Linked DNA regions of Homo sapiens: region 1 is linked to region 2. Evidence: promoter capture Hi-C in human tissues and cell types (Jung and others, 2019). All regions are on one chromosome and are shown on one strand. Each heading gives the region's core, a stretch centred on a gene start or on the middle of the fragment in contact. The rest is flanking DNA. Distances are from core to core; before and after follow the strand shown. Region 1 overlaps DZIP1L (DAZ interacting zinc finger protein 1 like). Region 2 holds the start of NME9 (NME/NM23 family member 9).

The links. Contacts are between HindIII fragments. The study calls those that stand out against the background at their distance.
Region 1: a fragment that was not itself captured here is called in contact with the fragment with the promoter of NME9 in region 2 in 1 of the 25 tissues and cell types used here (spleen).

Annotation. Positions count from the first base shown.
Region 1 is chr3:138,102,702-138,109,384 of GRCh38, reverse strand. It overlaps DZIP1L (DAZ interacting zinc finger protein 1 like), which reads left to right. Exons shown (of 16, transcript NM_173543.3): 2 at 5,333-5,914. The coding sequence starts at 5,414. It also overlaps the pseudogene KRT8P36. Among named protein-coding and RNA genes, the nearest start is that of DZIP1L, 9.6 kb to the left of the region's middle. The HindIII fragment of the contact is 3,985 bases long and covers 528-4,512 here.
Region 2 is chr3:138,324,335-138,331,490 of GRCh38, reverse strand. NME9 (NME/NM23 family member 9) reads left to right here and starts at 1,640. Exons shown (of 11, transcript NM_001349018.2): 1 at 1,640-2,188; 2 at 6,561-6,618. The coding sequence starts at 2,156. It overlaps LOC124909438 (a long non-coding RNA gene), which reads right to left and starts at 1,558. Exons shown (of 2, transcript XR_007096113.1): 1 at 1,321-1,558. The HindIII fragment of the contact is 18,429 bases long and covers 1-7,156 here.

The sequences.
Region 1 (6,683 bases), core at 1,271-3,770, 220 kb after region 2:
GAGCCAGGCTGCCTGGGTGTGAATCTTGCCTCTGGATCTTGGGCAAGCTTCTTTATTTCTCTGTGGCTTAGATGATAATAGTACCTCCTCAAGGGCTTGTCCTGAGAAATAGATGAGTGCTTCTTTGTAAAGCATTTAAAAACAGTGTCTATACATAAAATAAACAGCCCAGAAGTGTGAAAGTGTGGAAGGCAAGTAATATGGTAAATGGGAGATGCAGCTAGAGAGGTACTTTTGGAAGCAGTTCATCAAAGTCTTTGAATATCACTCAGTGTATTTGGAATTAGCCAATAAGGAACACAAAATCCATTCCCCTGTGGCTGGAGCTCAATAGTGGTTTCCCACCTTAAACAGGGCCTGCACTCTCAGGTTTGCCACAATCCCTAATGTTTCCTAGCCCAGCACTCCACAGATTTAGTGGTTCTAAATCAGTAAGTCTGGGGATCTGCATTTCTAACAAATTCCCAGGTGATGCTGATGCTGCTGGTCCAGAGACCACACTTTGAGAACCACTGCCTTATTGTACCTTGGACAATAAGATGGAGAATGAGTTGCCATTTATCATCACACATGTACTGTGGTTTCTTTCATATCTGCTACATTTTGTGCATTTAATGTTACTTTTCTGGCCCTGGTGGAACTTGGGTTTGCAATTCCTGGCATTATCAGTATGGAATGGTTGGGTATAAGATCACAAGAGACCGAGGGGCTAGAGAGAAAGAGATTTGGGGGTGACTGAGGCTCAGCCTAGAGCAAGCCTATAGTAGCTGAAGCTGTGAGCTCATTCCTAGGGATAGCGTGCAGGGAGAAATGGGTTGCAGGTGGATAGCAGAATATCAAGGGGGCAGTGGCACACCCTGTCATAAAAGAAAGGGGAAAGAATAGCCACTGTTTAAGGAAGAGCATTCAAAAAGGTAGGAGGAGAGATGAGAGAGAGAGTGGCTGATGGAGAGTTCTTGACTTTATTATTAGAGAGAGGACTGTTGGCAAACATCTGACGCCAAAGCTTAAATAGTTAAACAGTGCAGTTCTCAGGTGAGCTCACCTGAGAGCTGGGACATCAGGAAGCAGGTGTCTTATTACCCTTGCCCACAGCATGCCTGGTAACCTGCTGTTGCTCCGAGGCACAGCTTGTTGTGAGTAGTCGTCTCTGAGGCTCTGGTGGCACAGTTGCAGCTTTGGAGCTAAGCATGGTGAGTATCATGTCACCCATCTCTACTCAAAATACAAAAAATTAGCCAGGCATGGTGGCGGGCACCTGTAGTCCCAGCTACTTGGGAGGCTGAGGCAGGAGAATGACGTGAACCTGGGAGGCAGAGCTTGCAGTGAGCCGAGATCGCGCCACTGCACTGTTTCATAACATGGCAGAAATGTGCTAGTCTTCTCATGGCCATGGTGGGGGTGCTTATGTCAGGCTGGTTTTCTTTTTGGAGTACTTGTTGGGAAAGAGTATCTGAGAAAGGGAAGGATGGATCTGAAACTGAAAAGGTGGGCCAGTGGCATCCTGTAGGCAGTCTCAAGACCAGGCTGAGAGGTTTGCGTTTGGTACAGTGGGAATAGGGAGCCATGCTGAGCTCCAGGGTGGGGAGCAGCTGTGTGGTTAATATGGCTCCATAGCCCAGGACCTGAGCTTGGGCTGGGCCCACATAGGCATACTATAAATGAGGAGTGAGTAAATGGATGAATTGGAGGTTTAAGGGATAAAGGATGATAATCTGATCAAAGCAATATTTTAGGAGGAATAGCCCCAAGAATCAATGTTGAGTGGTTCAGAGTCCATAAGCTTTGGTGCCAGATGAACCTACAATTACACTTCAAATCTGGTCTCCTGTTTTCATCCATTTTGTACTGTTGCAACAGAATGACACAGACTGGGTAATTTATAAAGAAAAGAAATGTATTTCTCACAGTTCTGGAAGCTTAAGTCCAATATCAAGTCCAATATCAAGCTTGAAGTCCAATATTGGGCAAGGGCCTTCCTGCTGCATCATCTCCTGGTGGAGAGTGGAAGGTCAAGAAAGCATAAGAGCAAGAGGGAAGGGGACTGAATTCCTCCTTTCATCAGGAACCTACTCCTGTGATAACTAACCCACTCCTACAATAATGACATTCATCCATTCATGAGGGCAGAGTCTTCGTGACTTAATCACCTCTTAAATGTCCCATCTCTCAACACTGCTGCATTGGGGATTGAGTTTTCAACATATGACCTTTGGGGGATGCCACTGAACCACTCCAGAAACCAGTTTCCTTATTTGTAAAATGAGAATAATAATACCTGTTTGTAGGTTTGTATTAGGAGTTTGTATCTAGCACAGAGGGTGACACTCCCTGCAGAGCTGCCATTGTTATCACTGAGCACCTTCCCCTTGCATCTTCTCCAAGTCTCATAGCACCCTGTGAGGTAGGCAGGGCTGGCCTGTCACTGCCTTTCACAGAAGAAGACAGTGGCTCAGTGGGGTCAGGGGCTGTTCCTGGAGGCCCTTCTCTCTCTCTCTTTCTCTCTCTCTCTCTCTTTTTTTTTTGGCCAACCTAGTCCTACCACTTTTTTTTGAGACGGAGTCTCGCTCTGTCACCCAGGCTGGAGTGCCGTGGCGCGATCTCGGCTCACTGCAAGCTCCGCCTCCCAGGTTCACACCATTCTCCTGCCTCAGCCTCCCGAGTAGCTGGGACTACAGGTGCACGCCACCACGCCCGGCTAATTTTTCTATTTTTAGTAGAGACGGGGTTTCACCATGTTGGCCAGGATGGTCTCAATCTCTTGACCTCGTGATCCACCCACCTTGGCCTCCCAGAGTGCTGGGATTACAGGCGTGAGCCACTGCGCCCAGCCTAGTCCTACGATTTTTTAAAGGCCTTCTTCCTTCTGAAGCTGATGACTTCTTTGACTTTCTATTGCACTTTTTAAAGTGCACTTTCTATTGCACTTTTTAAAGTCTGAATCATGGGCCGGGTGCAGTGGCTCATACCTGTAACCCCAGCTCTTTGGGAGGCTGAGGCGGGTGGATCACGAGGTCAGGAGTTTGAGACCAGTGTGGCCAACATAGTGAAACCCTGTCTCTACTAAAAATACAAAAAATTAGCCAGGTGTGGTGGAGTGTGCCTGTAATCCCGGCTACTCTGGAGGCTGAGGCAGGAGAATTGCATGAACCCGGGAGGTGGAGGTTGCAGTAAGCCGAGATCGCGCCATTGTATTTCAGCCTGGGCGACAGTGCGAGACACTGTCTCAAAAAAAAAAAAAAAAAAAAAAAAAAAAAGAAAGAAGACTGAATCATGTAATCTCGAAAGACTTGATTAAATAGGGTAAAGTGTACCTCTTGTTGCCTTAGTCAGATTCTCACTTCTGCAAGAACTGAAATTCTATGTTTTATTTTAAAAAATAATAAAAGTGATAGAAGATGATGATAAGAAGTTTGAATAGTACAGAGAGGTAGAAAGTGAAAAATAAAAGTCCTGTAATCTCTATTTTCACTTCCCAGAGGCAGCCATTGCTAATAGCTTCTTGTCTATCTTTCCAGAAACAGTCTATGCTTATGAAATAATATACATAAGTGAATCATACATATGAATTATAAATGAGCATATTTTATTCATTATAAAACTAATTATAACAAATATGAGTCTTTCATATGTATGTGTGTGTATGGGTGTATATATATGTTGACTCTCCATATCTGTGGATCTGCATCCACAGATTCAACAAACTGCGGATCAAAAATATTTGAAAAAAAAAGGATAGTTTCTTCTGTACTGAACATGTACAGAGTTTTTTTCTTGTCATTATTCCTAAATAATTAAGTATAACAGCTATTTTTATAGCATTTACATTGTATTAGGTATTATAAATAATCTAGAGATGATTTAGAGTGTGTGCGAGAATGTGTATAGGTTATATGCAAATACTACACCATTTTGTATAAGCAATTTGAGCATCTGTAGATTTTGGTATCTGAGGAGGGTCCTGGAACCAATCCCTCATGGACACTGACAGACGACTGAATATGTATATATATATATATTTATATAAAATGATCATCATTGGTCTGTGAAGGCCTATTTACCTGTCTATCTGACCATCACCACCCACACACCATCCATCCATTTATTTATCCCCATTCCACACTCCCATTTCCCTCCCTCCTCTCATAGACAACCATTCTAATATGATATATATCTTTCACTTTGGTGAGTTATTAAATATGATTATATTAATATGTCATTAAAACAGAAATAGAGGTATATATGCCTATTTTGTGTGTGTTTACATATATATATATTGGAGATTATCATTTCATATCAGTACATGTAAGTCTGCTTTATACCAATCAATAGCTGCATAATATTCCATTGCATAGAGATACATTGTACTTTGCTTTCTTCTACTTTTTCTTTTACTTTGCTTTTATAAAAGATGCTACAATGACAATTTTTTCACAAGTACCTTTGTACATATGAGTTTGTAGCATAATTATAATTTTTAGTAGTGGAATGTTCAAAATTCCCATTGATATTGTCAAATTACTTTTCAGAGAGAACAGTTCATATGCTCACCAAGAGTTTAGAGAGTAGAATCTGAGTCTTGGCAAAGAAACTAGAGATCTTTTTACTTAACTATTAAGTTAAAAAAAAGCCCATGATGGATTGAGCACCATGTGGCAGAGACTCCGTAACTCTCTTAAGCCCCTCCTGACAGGGGTGGACATCATTTCACTCACATTCCAGGAGAGAGAACTTAGTCATATGATCACACGTTATTGCTGGAGAAGCTGGGAAAGGTAGTTCACTCGTGTTCCATTAGAATCCTGTAGTTATATGAGAAAGAGAAGACAGGGTGGACATTAGGAACCTTGGTCACTCACAGCAAGTTGTCGGACTTTATCTTGAGATAAAAATAGGGTTGCAGAAGGACCCATTTGTAAATTTGATAGTCACCTGCTGACAAAGGCCTTTGCCAGGCATTCCTGCAGTGGAGGTGGGCTTTGCAGAGGGGGCTCACTGAGGACCTGCTATGTGCCAGGCACTAGGCTGGGTGCTTCACTTGCCTCATTCCTCACCACAGGCCTGCACAGTGGGACCCATGTTCCTCCTTAGACACAGGAGGCTTAAAGATGTGCAGGGACTTGCCCAAGGCAGAGCATTCGAATCCACATCTGTGTGATTGCAAAGCCCATGTTTTCTTTCCACAGCTCTGGCCATGTCAGCACACACCATGAATGCTACAGCTGCTGCACAGACACCTCACTTTGCCCCGCTTAGGCCCTTGCTGGCCAGATATACAGTAGGTGCAGCCACACACACCTCACCTAACTTGGACTCTCTTCTTATTTTCCAGGCCTTCTCTCAGCTCCTTGGCCTACTGCCGTGGCCTTGGTGCCCCCCTCCTCTGGTGGTCAGCTCAGGGCTTCCTCTGCCCATGCAGTCCCCAGCTGCCACTGCTGAGGGCCTCAGTGGCCCCCTCTTTGGGGCCTACACGTTCCCCACCTTCAAGTTTCAGCCTCGCCATGATAGCATGGACTGGAGACGCATTAGCACCCTGGATGTAGACCGCGTGGCCCGGGAACTGGATGTGGCCACTCTGCAGGAGAATATTGCTGGCATCACCTTCTGCAACTTGGACCGGGAGGTGTGCAGCCGCTGTGGGCAGCCTGTGGACCCGGCACTGCTCAAGGTGCTGCGCCTGGCGCAGCTCATCATTGAGTACCTGCTGCACTGCCAGGATTGCCTGAGTGCCAGTGTTGCCCAGCTGGAGGCACGGCTGCAGACCAGCCTGGGCCAGCAGCAGCGTGGTCAGCAGGAGCTGGGACGCCAGGCTGACGAGCTCAAGGGTGTGCGGGAGGAGAGCCGCCGGCGTCGCAAGATGATCAGCACCCTGCAGCAGCTGCTAATGCAGACAGGCACCCACAGCTACCACACGGTGAGGAATCTCCACCAGGCAGGGAGAGTGGGAGGGCTGTGTGCCCCAGCCACTGGGGCAACTGTTGCCACTGGGCAGCACTGCTGGGACCTTAAGGCTGCTGGGGGGCTGTTCTCACTGGTTAGGAGCAGATTTCAGAGATGCTGCTCATGGCCAGAGAGCCTGGGGGTGTCTCATTAGGTTCTACAGTGTGTGTGTGTGTGTATGTGTGTGTAGATTGTACATGTGTGGGAGGTGTGCGTGTTTATGGAGAGGGTACATGTCTAGTGTATGTATATGCATGAATGTATGGCGAGTGTGTGTGTTTGTAAATGATGTGAACATGTGTGTGTGTTTAATGTGTGTGTGTGTGTGTGAATACTTGAAGGGTACCTCTGTGTGTATGTAGGGTGTGTGGTGTGTAATGTGTGCTTGTACTATGTTATAAAGGATACAACTCTGGAGCATGTATAAAAAGGTGTATTAATAGTGTTAGTGACCAAGAAGCAGCTTCTCTGCTCCTTCTGGAATCTCCGCCTGGTTCAGCCCACCTGCCTCCACTCCTGCTTCCACCATGTTCATCAGGGTGACCCAGAAGTCCTACAAGGTGCCCACCTCTGGCCCCCAGGTCTTCAGCAGCTGCTTCTACATGAGTGGGCCCAGTGCTGGCATCAGCTCCTTGAGCTTCTCCTGAGTGGGCAGCAGCAGCTTCCGGGGTGACCTGGGCGGAGGCTATGGTGGGGCCAGTGGCATGGGAGGCATCACTGCCATCACTGTCAACCAGAGCCTG
Region 2 (7,156 bases), core at 391-2,890:
GTGCTGGCAAGAGGAATTTAGCATCTGATTTGAATTTTATTTTGGAAACTAAATTCTAAGGGAGATTCCACACCATTCAAGAGCTTCAGCAACCACCACCTTGTGGCAATGAACATGATTTGCATCTAGTCAACTCAGTTTGCAATGTGGTGTCTTAAGGACTGCCTGTGGCTCTGCGTAATATTATCATGGAACTGAATATTGCCATGGGACTGAATGCAAGAAAAGAGTAGGTGGATTCGGAGCTGAAGTGGGAGAAGGCAGGATGACAGGTAGGAAGATGTTCGGTCTCCAGTATACCCATCGCCCTGTACTTCACAGAGGGTTGCTGGGTACCTCATGGCCAAACAGGGTATCAGCACTCCCTGGATGGAAATCATTTGGTGTATGCTTCACTTAGGAAGAATTGATATCTTAACAATATTAATTCTTCCTATCCATGAACACGGAATATTTCTTCATTTATTTAAATCTGTGAGATCTCTTTCATCAGCTGTGATTGATTCCTAGTTTAATTCTATTGCAGTCAGAGAACATACTTTGTTCTATCCTTTTAAATTTGTTAAGCTATGTTTTATGGCCTAGATTGTGGTCTATCTCAGTGAATGTCCCATGTGAGCTTGAGAAAGAATCTATATTCCGCTGTTGTTGAACTAAATATTGCATAAATGTCAATTAGATCAATTTGATATTTTTCAGTTCAACTATATCCTTGCTCATTTGCTTCTGCTGGATGTATTAATTACTTTTTAAAAATGGTATGAAAGCATTCTATTATAATACTGAGTTTACCTATTTTTCCTTGCAGTTTTATCTTCTTTTGCCTCACATATTTCGGTGCTCTGTTTTTAAGTACATACATATTAAGTATTGTTATGTCTTCCCAAATAACTGATCCCTTTAACTTTATGTAATGTCCCTGTTTATACCTGATAAATTTCCTTGTTCTGAAGTCTGCTTTTCTTGAAATTAACATACCTACTTCAGCTATTTTTTTAATTAGTGTCAGCCTGGTATAGCTTTCTCTATCCTTTTGCTTTTAATGTATTTTCTTGTGGATAACACACGATTGGGCTTTGTTTGTTTTTGAAATCCATTCTGACAATCTCTTTTTTAATTGGTGTAATCAGATTATTCACATTTAAAGTGGTTATTGATACAGTTGGATTAATATCTACAATGTCTGTAACTGTTTTGTATGTGTCTCACTTGACTTTCATATCTAATTTTGAATTTGTAATTTCATATTCTTTGCCTTAAAGAGAACGCTTGCAGATCCCTCAAAACCTGGAGACACCCCCCACCTTGCACACATTATACCGGTATGTGATGGTAGAAAAGCTGCACATCAGTCTTGGCAGGCAGGGCAGGAGGGATGCAGGGATTCACAGATGCGACTGTGCAACGCACAGATGCACTGGGTCTTTGCTTGGTGGGTTCGAAGCCTCCAGACGCTGACAAACACTGCAGCCAATGAGTGGGTTCCTATGGTCCGATATGGAGGGCAAGGGGCGGGACTCCCTCCTGCCTCTCCCTGGCTGGGTTCAGAGCCTCCGCGGAGAGACTGCGTTGGGCCCAGAGTGGGCGTGGCTTACGTGTCCGCCGGCTTTCCTGGCAGGCCTGGCGGGGGGGCCAGGTTGCCATGACGACCGCGGCTAGGTCGCGGCAGACTCGGTTGGTGACTCCGGGCGCGTCGAAGATCTTGTACCTGTCGTTCGCAGTGGCTCACTTTCCCAGTAATCCATAAGAACAGCAGGGATAACAGGGTCCCATGTCGTTTTTTTGTCAGAATTCCTCGACTGGCGACCCTGTGCCCGACAGGCTGCACCGCGCCCGGCGCACTGACTCCGGCCTCTGCGCGCGCCCCCTGGCCGGCTCCGGGGTGGGGAGGGGGCTTCGCAGATCCCCAGAAAACCGCCCGGCGAGCCACGAGCCCGTGGACTGCAGGCTCCGCTTCCTCGCGGGGTGTTCACTTTGTATCAGTGTGCTGATTTGCCGCCAGTTAGAAGCACCTTAAAAAGGGGCCGGGGGCCGTAGGAGGGGGGCTTGTCTGAAGGAGGCTCTGGGCTTGCTGATCCACGCAGCGGTTTGTCGCGAGGCTGCGGGGGAACGGCCCACGGCCGCGGTAACAGGGCTTCGTCTTCTTTGCAGAGCCATGGGCAGCAGGAAGAAGGAAATTGCCCTGCAGGTAAGCCTCAAGGGGCGCTAGCTTCCAGCTCTGGGTTGGGCTCGGGGAAGAGGAGGGTGATTAGAGCGGGGTTGCAGTATAAAAGTGACATTCTGTTTGCCAGCAGTACGTGACAGTGTTCTCAAACTTGAGTGATGTACCCTTCCGTCTTAAAGGGACAAAACTTATCTTGGAACCCCAGTGATGACAAATTTTACGCAAACAAAATTAATGCAAACAAAACTGAGTAGAAGCTGTTTACATTTATAGTGCTTATACAACCATAAAACCTAAACATGCATTAAATAAAACTATAAACTAAGAAAATACGAATCAACATAACTCGATGTGACCGTTATTTTGTTCTTGTTGAAATACAACTGCAGCTTGCACAGAGAATACAGTATAGGTTCTTTTGACTTTGGGCATGAGTCTGTAACTGTGTGCTCTGTGGAGACCCAGTTTTCCCACCACTGTTCTCATCAAATTTCACTTATTAACAAATATGTTTTGAGATATATTATGTGCTGGACATATGTTATATAGAGTGTCTTACTTCATTTGCATGTGGGACAAGTGAATTCAGAAGCCAGCAGCTGCTCTTCTTCTTGGTCCTGGACAATAGATAGTGGTTGATTCTGAAGTGATGGTAAAAACATGCAGGCATAGACCCTGGAATTAGGAGAGAGTGCTTGGTCATAAGGAGATCAGCTGGATGATCTGCAACATGGGAACATTTTAAAACGAACTTAAAATGCCTCATCATCAGCTGGCCCCAGTAAGATGCATACCAAGGCTACAGCGCCTCCTAGATAATAGAGCATTAGTGGTTTTGAGACATCTGGTTTCTCTCTTATTGTCCTCAGCAGGACCAGCAGTTTGCATGTGGATTTCAAAAGCCTAGTGGTTTAAAAAAGAGGAAAGGGGAAAGCAGCATCATTCTAAGGGTACCCCATGCTGGGGGTGGGAGGGGTGTGGGGTGGGGTGGGGTGGGATTTTTAGACTGGAAGTCAGAAGACCTGATGTAGTTCTTGTGTCCTCTATAGCCAACTGTGTCTTTGACTACATCACATAACCTCTCCAGGCTATAGCTTGCCCATCTATGGAATGAGGATGTTGTGTGAATTATCCCTAAGGGCCTTCTTCCAGCCTTGATATTCTAGGATTCTAGAGTCAGAAGCCACTTCATACGTGAATGTTCTGGTTGAAGTAAATTCTGATCAACTGGTCCTACCATTCATTGCTGTGTGACTCATTTCCTCAACTCTCTGGCCTCCGTATCCTTTACGTAGACAGGAGGGATGATACCTGTCCTGTAACGCCTGCAGAGCTGTGATGAGACTCCTTTAGACACTTCCTGGCTGGTCTGATGTTGTCTGTGGTGTCTCTAATGTTATTGCCCCATATTATGGTCATTTCATGTGTTGATGCCCTAGAGCTCCTATGGGGGTAATAACTTTTGTTAGCAATGTTGTTATTTTTTCATGTGTATTACTCAGAGCTCTGAGTACAATGCAGTACTCAAACTAAGTGCTCCCTCCTGCTGAAAGGAGGAGAGCGAGCAGCCTCCCCTCCCGTCTTCTACTGAGGCATCTGTGTAAAGGTCACCTCTCTATAAGGTAAACCCCTTGAAAGCAATGCCTAAAGTTGGCCAACCCAGGAACCTTGTCCTCTCTCTCAGCAAGGTTATTCAGGGTTCCCTTTATAACTGAGACAGGCAGAAATCACAGGACATCAAGGGACAGTCTGGGTAAAAGGTGCCACACATTCCCTATTCATTCCCTACCAAATGCAGGCTTAGTGAAGTCCGGATAGTTCCCACACTGTTCCACTCTTGCCTGGCTCCCAGGGCTGAGATTCTTCAACTGCCCAGAGTCCTGGCCCCAGAGCTGGTGGGACTCACTCCATGACAGGGGTGGGCCACAGAGAGCTGCTGGTGACTTAAGTCTGAGCCTCTGGGTAGGGGTGTGGGGCCCTTCCGAACGCTTCTATCACCTTCCTCAGGACTGTAGTTGTGGGCCCAGGGTTATGTCAGTCCAACTCTCTTATTTCATTTAAGACATCAAGAAGACTTTTCTGGGTTTCTTTTTCTTCTACTTTTCATTGAAACAAAAAAAGTAAGGACTATGCTTCCTTAAAAGAGAGACTTTTTTTTTTTTTTTTTTGAGACAGTTTCATTCTGTCCTGTCGCCCAGGCTGGAATGCAGCGGCATGATCTCATCTCAGTGCAACCTCCACCTCTCACGTTCAAGCAGTTCTCATGTCTCAGCCTCCCGAGTAGCTGGTAAAACAGGTATGCGCCACCACGCCCGGCTAACTTTTTTTTTTTTTTTTTTTTTTTTTTAGTAGAGGCAGGGTTTCACCATGTTGGCCAGGCAGGTCTGAAACTTCTGGCCTCAAGTGATCTGCCCGCCCTGGCCTCCAAAAGTGTTGGGATTACAGGCATGAGCAACCACGTTCGGCCAAAAAAGGAACTTTTAATAGAGGATTAGCAGTTGTTACATGTTTCTTGCCCTTATTGCCAATAATGCATCCTATCTTTTTTAGAGGGACACAGACCTTAGCATACCTGTATTAAGAACAATAGTAGGCCAGGCGTGCTGGCTCATGCCTGTAATCCCAGCACTTTGGAAGGCCGAGGCAGGCAGATTACTTGAGGTCAGGAGTTCACGACCAGCCTGGCCAACATGGTGAAACCCTGTCTCTACTAAAAATACAAAAAATTACCCGGGTGTGGTAGCGGGCACTTGTAATCCCAGCTACTTGGGAGGCTGAGGCAGGAGAATCTCTTGAACCCAGGAGGCAGAGGTTGCAGTGAGCCATGATCATGCCACTGCACTCCAGACTGGGTGACAGAGTGAGACTGTGTCTCAAAAAAGACAAACAAAAAACCCAGTAGTAATTTTTGTGGTCTTTTAATGTATATAGTTTCAAAGTAGCTCACCACAAAAATATGTTAATTACAAAGGAAAAGAGAATAATTTTACAGACAACAGACCTGACAGACCATGTTAATCCAGTGATCAAAGTGAACATCAGTAACAGGCAGATGGAAATTGTGTCTCATCTGCTAGGGAGTAGTGAGAGGAATGATCTTCAGCTTCTCCAACACTCCAACCAGTCCAGCCAATTTCAACCAGTCCAAACATGCACAGTCTGAATCCAATCAGGAGGAAACATCAGATATGCCCCAACTGAGGGACATTCTACAAAATACCTGGCATGTAGTTTTCCAAAGTGTCAACATTGTGAAAAGAAGAGAAAGACTAAAGAACTATTCCAGACTAAAAAGACTTGACAAATAAATCTAGCACACATTTCTGATTAGCTCCTTTGATACTCAGGACATTATGGGATAAATAGGAAAACTTGCACTCTATCTAAGGATTAAATGTTCACAATATGTCAGTGTTTTTTTCCCCTGATTTTGATTATCGTAATGTGTTATATAGGAATAATATATTCAGGAGTAATAAGATAACAAGCTGTAATTTGCTTCCAAATACCTAAAAAAAAAAAAAAAAAAATCCCTAAATCTTTATACTGTACTTGCACACTTTCTCTAAGTTTGAAATTATTTCAAAGTAAAAAACATTATACAGAAATGTTTACTATTGGCCAGATGTGGTGGCTCATGCCTGTAATCCCAGCACTTTGGGAGGCCGAGGTGGGCAGATCACTTGAGGTCAGGAGTTCGAGACCAGCCTGGCCAACATGGTGGAACCCCGTCTCAACTAAAAATACAAAAATGGCCAGGTGTAGTGGCATGTGCCTGTAATCCCAGCTCCTCAGGAGGCTGAAGCATAAGAATCGCTTGAACCTGGGAGGCAGAGCAGAGGTTGCAGTGAGCTGAGATTGCGCTTCTGCACTCCAGCCTGGGTGACAGAGCAAGACTCCATCTCAAAAAAAAACAAAAAAAAAAAAAGAAATTTTTACTGTTAATAAAGAGGGACAATATGTATTTCTCCTTGTATTTCATATTTATAAAACCAGAACTGTGTGGATAAGAAAAAAATGTGAGTGAATGGCAATAAATTCAACTTAATTCTGATACTGAGTGAAAACACAAATTTCAAAATGAAACCTACAGTTTGATGTATTTATGTACATTTTAAGGACACAAAAACAATTTATATATTGTTCCTGGACAAATAACATGTAAAAGTATTTTTTAAATGCCTGAGACTAGTATACATCATTCTTAGGATAGTGTTTTTTTCTGGGTAGGGAAGAAGGGAGAGAAGGAAGGAGAAAAGAAGATGGGGGAGAGGATAACTTGAACTGTACTTGTAAGTATTTCAGAGATAGAAGAGAGAAATCTAGAGCAAATAGATTGAATTGTTTCCCTGCCTGAGCCCTCAGTAATACGGCATTTGATCCTCTTTGGCTTTAGGTCAACATCAGCACCCAAGAGCTTTGGGAGGAAATGCTCAGTTCCAAAGGACTAACTGGTAATTCAAAGTAAAATAACTTTTTAGATCCATTCTTTTCTAAATTATTAAATGGTGTGATGAACCATGAAGAGAAGGGCTGCAATGAACACCACTTTCCTATTACCTTGAGCCTCATAAAAAACCAGGTGATGTGTGTGTGTGTGTGTGTGTGTGTGTGTGTGTGTGTGTGTGTGTGTATCTGGCTTGAATATCAGTAAATTCAGTTCAGGAAATGAGTCAGTACTTAGGGTTGTTTGGTGTTAAAAGTAACAGAAAACCTCTTCTAATTACTTCAGGCACTAAAGGAGAATGCATTGGAAGGAATACAGGGATCTCTTGGAACTCAAAGGATGGAAGGAGAGCCAGGCATCACTGGGACTTGAACCTGGGACTGCAGTCATTAGGAAACAGCAGGCCACTGTCTATGGGCCTCCTCATCCCTATCCTCCTGGCATCAGTTATTTGTTGCACTTAGCAATTTACCCAGAAACTTAGTGCTTTACAACAACAAACATTGATTATCCCAGTTTCTGTGGGTCAGGAGTCCAGGTATAGC